Linked DNA regions of Homo sapiens: region 2 is linked to region 1. The links are contacts of gene promoters, found by promoter capture Hi-C in human tissues and cell types (Jung and others, 2019). All regions are on one chromosome and are shown on one strand. Each heading gives the region's core, a stretch centred on a gene start or on the middle of the fragment in contact. The rest is flanking DNA. Distances are from core to core; before and after follow the strand shown.

Region 1 (3,516 bases), core at 408-2,907:
CATCTTCTAGGCAATAGTCGAGTTTACCACATCTCTGAATTCCTCCACTATGCCTAACACATTGCAGTCACTCAATTAATAGTTTAAAATACATATTTTTAAAATAGAATAGGAAGAAACATTAATAACATAGGGTATACCTTCTCTTGTAACAAAGGAGAAAAAATAAGTTCAGATCGATTTTAGATTACCTAATTGCAGCCAGTCATGATTGGCCTAAGCTAGAACAATCTTTTCCTGGCCCCTGAGTTAAGGAATCTTTGTTCAGTGATAGGGAAAATGGTATTTGTTTCATTTCTCCAAGAACATAGGTGTGATTACAAATGAATGAGCATCTGGTTCATTGGAGTCCCAGATAAATCTGTGAGACAACACTGTGAGCAATTTGTTGCCAATCTTAAAGCTCAGATCAACCCTTTGAGTCTGGCTTAGCTCAGGCAGAAATTGTAGTCTGCAAAAGAAACTGAGAAGAAGAGGGCAAGGAGAGTGTGGCATCCCAAGACATAAAGACTCAAATCAATGAGAGCAAGCAACTCTGTCAAATTTCACCAGAAGTGAGGACTAAATATTGACTACCGAATTTTGCAAGGTAGGAATCACTGGTAAACCTAACAAGAGCCACTTCATAGTATTGGTTGGGACCAAATCCTGGTTAAAGTGGGAAAAACAAACAAAAGAACAAAAGGTAAGAAAATGGAGATAATGGATGTAAAGATTTTTTTTCCCCAGAAATTTTGTTATAAAGAGAAGAAAACAAATGGGGTGGTTGCCGATTGGTGTCAAGGAGGATTTTTTAAAAAATGAAATCATGAAATGATTTTATGGCAATCACTGCAGCATGTTTATGAACTGATAGGGAAGATCCAATAGAGAAGAAAAAACTGAAGATGCAAAAAAGAGCAGTTAGAGCCAAGTTCTCAAATAGGCAAGAAAAGATGGGCTCGAAAGAACGACATGATTCATGTAACAGTTACTAGGACTCATCAGTGCTCATTAAATGTTATCTATTATTATTTCTGATCGCTTCAATTTTTGAATAGGCATCAGGGTTACAAAATATTATTATTAAAAACACATGCAAACAGCTTGGACTCTAAGACTGCATTCAATTCTAGTTCTACCACTTGGACAAGGCACTTTTTTTCTTCGGGCTTTTTCTCTGTAGAAAACGAGGAGTAATATCTGCCTCATAAGGCTGCGGGCTTAACTGAGATAATCTGTAAACTTTAACACATGGTGGGAACTTAAATATTAACGCCAGTATTACCACTGGTAGGGTGCATGAGATCGCACGATGGTGCCAAAGGTGTCTCTCCACCGCCCAGCCCAGCGACACTGTTCCCCTAGAAGGCATTGTCGTAAAAACAAAAAAAAAAAAAAAACGAACAAACAAAACACCAAAACACGGAAACTAAAAGCAAATACTTAAAAGACATGCAGGAAACCAGCCCAAGGAAAAATTTATGTGGAGCCACGTCTGCGCCTGCGCCTGCGCCAAGCCCACGGCGCGCCACTTGCACATGCGCAGTAGCTGTAGGAGGGGGTGGGCGCTCCATTGGGCGTTTCTCTTGGTTTTTCCTTTCCGCGCGGCTTGGGCGGACGTCTCGTGAGACGTGGGACTTCTCGCGGGAACTGCATTCAAATATCCCAGGCGCTTACTCGAGAGCTAGCTGAGCGAATGGGCCGGCGACTGTGGAGTTAGCGTCCTCAATGTGGACGCCCTGAGCTCCCATTAGGAGCCGCTGGCTGCGGCAGCAGGGGACTAGCGTGAGAGGTAGGGGCAAGGGGCCTGGTGGGAGGTGGGTGTGGAGAGCGGCAGTGGGGAGAGTCGAACAGGCCCTAAAGAAAGCTAGGGGCCGGGGTCTCGGCCGAGGCCTTTAGCTGAAACATCTCCTTCCCCGGAACCCTGGGGTCTTATACACTGGGTTCCGAGCCGGTCTTATCTTCCGCTGGACCACCTCGCCGCCCTCAGGGATTCTGGACAAATATGGAACGTTGGGTCGGTTGCCGGGTCCTCAAAATTATAACCGCCACTGGATCTGCGCTGTGCGGTACGGTAGCCTCTAGCCCGAACTAAGAAATGGTGCAGATGGGAGATACATATTGGGTTTCAGAGATAGCGCATAAGGAGTAATATCTCATTAATAATTTTTATAATGATTACATGTTGAAATGATGTTTTGAGTGTATTTGTTTAAATATGTAAATTAATTTTTCATCTTTGTTTACTTTTTAAATCATGATGGCTCCTAGAACATTTAAAATCACGTACATGACTCGCGTTATATTTCTGCTGGACAGCACTGCCCCAGCCGTGTGTCAGATTCTACCCTAATTGCTTTTCATTCGTTATCTCATTTAATCCTTTCAGTAACCGATTAGGTGGGTGTTATTGTGCTTGTTTTTATAGATGATTAAACCAGAAATTAAATAACTTGTCCAAGTTCATGCAGCCAGTGAGTAGTGGAGGCGGGGTAAGAACTCAGGCAGTTTGATTCCCAGAGTTTCCTGTGTCCCAAATGCTTTGTGTGTGCTATATTTTTGAGAAGCAGGACAGGAAAAATGGTTGCAGCACCATGGTTTCTAGGTAGATTCTAGTTCCCATCACACTTCGCGTCTTAACTTGCGGGTAACCCTAAGCAAGTTACTTAAAACTTTCTATGCCTCAGCTTGCATGTGTAAAATGAGGGAAATACCTTCAACCTCTTGAAGTTGTTGAGAAGATTGAATAAGAATGTGTATAAAGCGGCCGGGTGCGGTGGCTCACGCCTGTAATCCCAGCTACTCGGGAGGCTGAGGCAGGAGAATGGCGTGAACCCGGGAAGCGGAGCTTGCAGTGAGCCGAGATTGCGCCACTGCAGTCCGCAGTCTGGCCTGGGCGACAGAGCGAGACTCCGTCTCAAAAAAAAAAAAAAGAATGTGTATAAAGCACCAAGCACAATGTCTGTCACACATTAGTAGTTTTTAATCAACCACGGCTATCTCTCTTTGTAGATTGATAGGTTAACTCTTTCTCATCCATTAGACCTCTGCTGAAAAGTTACTTCCTCAGGAAAATTTTTTTGTCCATGTTCCCTTCTACGCGCTGCCCCCCAGATTAGGACAGCTCCCCCTTGTTACAGGCTCAGGTAGCATACATCTGTCTCTCTTGCACTTATCATACTTGTAACTTGATAGTTCAATTACTTGATTTAATGTCTTTTACTAATAGACTAGGATTCAAGAAGACAGGAATATTGTTTTAGGTTGCCATTGTGTTGTCAACACTAGCACAATGTCTCACACAATAAGAATTCCAGCAAATTTTTTGAATAAACTAAAGCAAATTTTTTTTGGCTTCTCTGGATATGCCTGGCTGGAATGTCTTGAGGTTAACCCTATTTTTATTTTGGTAGTTGAGATGACAGTATTTACTTAACTCAAGCTCATCAAGATAATTAGATGAGATAATATATTTGAAGCAGTTAGCATGGCAAATGGTAAATCCTCAACGAATGTAAGTTATTGTGAACAGTA
Region 2 (3,884 bases), core at 1,289-3,788, 540 kb before region 1:
AAGGCACTTCTCTGCAAGAGTGAAGTATACTTCTCCCACCTGTCTTCTTGGTTTGATGATTGCATGTATAGTGCTGTACACAGGGCATAGGCAAGGAAAATGGAAGATGAAGAATGGATATCGTAGAACGGTCCAGTTCATAAGGGCCTACTGGAGAATTCTCAGACTCTCCAGAATCACACTTCCAGACAGTGACAAACAGAGCCCCTCAATACCTTCATACAGAAACACTTTAATCACCCTACACATTAGAAAAAAGTCCTGAGAAACCAGAAGAGGCTGGAAAGGTAGCCTGGAGTTCCAAGATCTCATGAAAAATTAATTCAACCCTCAAAGTCAGCACCAGTAAGGACTGTTCTATATAACAAAAAGTCCTCAGTTGCATTATTTAAAAACTGCTTTGGACTGACCAACTAATTTCAAAGGCTTCACTCTTTGCATTAGATGTTATCAAAGACGGATGTGCTAAAAGGGTTCTTTCTATCAAATCCGGTGCCCCTCTGCTCTCCTAGGGTTATAATTGAGATCCTTATTACAGCGAGAGCACTTTTGCTTTCATTTTAACCTAAATGTTTTTGTGAGATTTCCCTTCAAAGCCTGATGAAGAATGAGATTAGTGAAATCAGCCCTGTTCTCCCAGGAGCCACTAGCTCCTTTGACTCAGAGACCTTGGAGCTCCCTTATATATTACAGTCACATCAAAGGGGCATTTTGTTGTTTGTTTGTTACACCAACATTGCCAACCCGAGAATCAAACTGTTTTTTAAGTAGAGGTAAGAGATGAGGGTGCTGGGCTTGGGATTCTGAACAGGTGTGTTCCATTTTAAGAAATCCTGTTATTCAAAAATGAGCTATAAAAACAAGAAAAACTGGAAACGATCTGTCCATTTACAAAAGAGGGCTTACTATCGGCTTCCTTAAAAATCAGCTCCCTAATCTAGTTAATGTTTCATTATCCATAAAACAAAAGGGTGTTTACTGGCAACATTTTTGAAATACATCCATTATTTATAGAATGAGACATCTTTTGTACTACTACTAATGGCTTCCTTTATTGAATGCCTCCTATTTATGTGACTGTCTCTGTACTGACACTTTATATAAGTAATCTCATTTACTTCTCAAAACAGCCCTGTAACCTACATATCAGAATCTCATTTTATACTAGAGAAAAAAAATGACTTGCCCGAGGTCATACAGCCAGCGCAGACCTGGAATTCAAAGCCAAAGTCAGTTTTGCTTTGCACTTCATTTAGGTCTTGTTAGTAATTAGATTCAATGGTCATACTCCAAAGCCTCATTAATTTGGGCTGGTTGAGACACATTATAGTTTAAATTTGCTAGAAAAGTTTGAATTACAACATATCCACAGATTACCCACAAGTACACATAATGAGTTGGTAGTTTCACTGTTTGATGCAGATCCTTCAGGACTTCCTTCAATGATAAGAATAATTATAAGTCTTAACCCCACTGTATAAAGGCAATAGAAACACCCAACTAAAATGCATGAAAATACTTTGTTCCCTTAAGTTGGTTAAGTATAACTTGATAACTTGCCTATCAAACTCTCTTTTGAAAACACTTTATATGAGCTATGTTCAAGGGATCACGAATTTTTGAGTAGCAGGCCTTGATGTGATTATGCTCTGATTTTAATTTCTTTCAAACAAGAGCTCTTTGTATATTTCATTAACCCCTTGGCTTAGCAATAAAGAGAAGCAAGAGACTGTGAGAGAAAGCAATGAGTTTCTCCATTCCCCACTCCAGTTGTCTGGGCAAGAAGAGTGGCTGATTTAAGAGGGAACAGCTATCTCTGCCTTACCAAAGGTAGGCCTTATAATTAGCAAACAGCAGTGAGAGTCATCCGAACTGGGAGCTCAAGATTGGGATGATGCAGACTCTGGTCAAGTCAACAGTAAGAATGACATAACTACGACAGAACATGTTAAAAACTGTTCATATCTTCCTTTCCATTTAGGAAATACTCTGGATCCCAGATCAGAGAAACTTATTCTGATAGGAGACTACCCTGAGTAGAGAGAAGTAGTAGATAAAGGCTAAAGTGGCCAAATCAATGCACAGAAGCAAGGGCACCACCTCACACCCACCAGGATGTCTATGCTAAAAATGAAAAGGACAATAACAAGTGTTGGCAAGGATGTGGACCAACTGAAACATGCATACATTGCTGGTATGAATATAAATGGCGTGGCCATTGTGGAAAACAGTTTGGCAGTTCCTCAGAAAGTTAAATATAGAATTACCATGTGACCCAGTAATCCTGCTCCTATGTATATACCTAATACAACTGAAAACATACATGCACACAGAAACTTGCATATCATTGTTCACAGCAGCATTATTCATGATAGCCAAAAGGTGGAACATGCAATGGAATATTATTCAGCCATAAAAAGAAATGAAGTATCGATACATGCTGCATTACAGATGAATCTTGAAAACATGCTAAATGATAGAAGTCAGACATAAAAGGCCACATACTGCAGGATTCCATTTTTATGAAATACCCAGAATAGGCAAATCCATAGAGACAAAAAGTAGATTAGTATTTGCTGGGGGCTGGAGGAAGGTGGGGGGGGGGATGGGGAGAAATTGTTAATGGGTACCAGATTTCTCTTTGGGGTGATGGGATGCTCTGGAATTAGACAGTGGTGATGGTCACACAACATAGTGCATAGACTAAAAAGCACTGAATGATATAATTTAAGATGGTGAATCTTATGTTAAACTATATCTCAAGAAAAAAAGAAGGAAAAAAGAAAGGGCCAGGGTTGCTAGAAAGAGAATGTCTCTAAACAGTGGGGCTTCCCCTTTTTAATTCAACTGGCCTGTAGACCCCAGCTCTGTTTCTGGGCCTGGAGAAGGATAGTGCTTATTGCTGCATTTTTTGATCATCAACAACAGTGTAAGCTTCCTTAGCTTCCCACTGCTCATACTTCTCTCTCTGAAGAAGCAGCCTTCTGTCCATCACGGGATGAGAAGAACTCCTCCATGGTTCACAGGTTTCTGCGAGATGAAGCAGCACCAGAGATGCGGGGTCATGCTAAGGTTTCATAGAAGAACTTCAAGTATTCAGCAGCAGTGGGGGATTGCACAGCTTAAAGGTTTTCAGACCACTTGTGACAGCAACAGAAGACGACAATGCATTCCTGTTGTGCCCTGCTATGTGAAGCAGACCTTAATTTGAGACAGGGATGGGGGTTGGGAGGGGTGACTCCTGTAGGCTGGAGCTGCTGGTGAGATGAAAACCCTAAACGTGCAACTTGGGCACAGCTTCACTTGCTACTTCCTCACTGCCCGGGCTTTCCCTCACACCTAGGAAAATCCTCTGAGTTGCTGCTTCAACAGACAGCAAAAAAGAACTTCTACTATTGTTACTTCAAAGACTTCTTCCAAGTGTAGTCCATGCAGGAAAAAAAAAAAAAAAAAGAACTGAGATGATGTAGTTTATTTCCTGGAAATATTAGTATTTCAAGACCTGGGTGCACCATCCACACTTTCCAGGGCATTGCCTGACACACGGTAGGTATTCAATAGATGATTTTTACTGAAAGAAGGAGTGAATGAATATGTGTATATGAGTATTTACTATGTGATAGGTGCTGTACTAAGTTTTTACATCATTATCACATTTTAAATGCACAGAGGTGTACAGTGACTTGCCCAAAGTCAAACAGCTTGTAAACTGCAGACCCAGGAGCCAAACCACAGCAAGCTCTTCCATCCTACAGGAAGCATTCTCTGCCTAATTAAGAAGAGTTTGTGGCCTACACTTCATGTTCCCATAGCACCTGGTGAGTCCTCCGATTTTACCATACACCGAGTCAGATTGTTAAGTTTGTGCTCACTTTTCATTCATT

Evidence for each region. The method cuts DNA at HindIII sites, captures the fragments that hold promoters and counts their contacts. A contact is called where the count stands out against the background at its distance.
Region 2: a contact is called between a fragment that was not itself captured here and the fragment with the promoter of SPDL1 in region 1, in 4 of the 25 tissues and cell types used here (aorta, mesenchymal stem cells, mesendoderm cells and 1 more).

The regions. Positions count from the first base shown.
Region 1 is chr5:169,582,116-169,585,631 of GRCh38, forward strand. SPDL1 (spindle apparatus coiled-coil protein 1) reads left to right here and starts at 1,658. Exons shown (of 12, transcript NM_017785.5): 1 at 1,658-1,774. It overlaps LOC105377714 (a long non-coding RNA gene), which reads right to left and starts at 1,546. Exons shown (of 3, transcript XR_941200.3): 1 at 1,268-1,546. RefSeq lists an enhancer at 1,285-2,285. The HindIII fragment of the contact is 9,913 bases long and covers 1-3,516 here.
Region 2 is chr5:169,041,993-169,045,876 of GRCh38, forward strand. All of the region lies in intron 4 of SLIT3 (slit guidance ligand 3), which reads right to left. Among named protein-coding and RNA genes, the nearest start is that of SLIT3-AS1, 31 kb to the left of the region's middle. The HindIII fragment of the contact is 7,762 bases long and covers 1-3,884 here.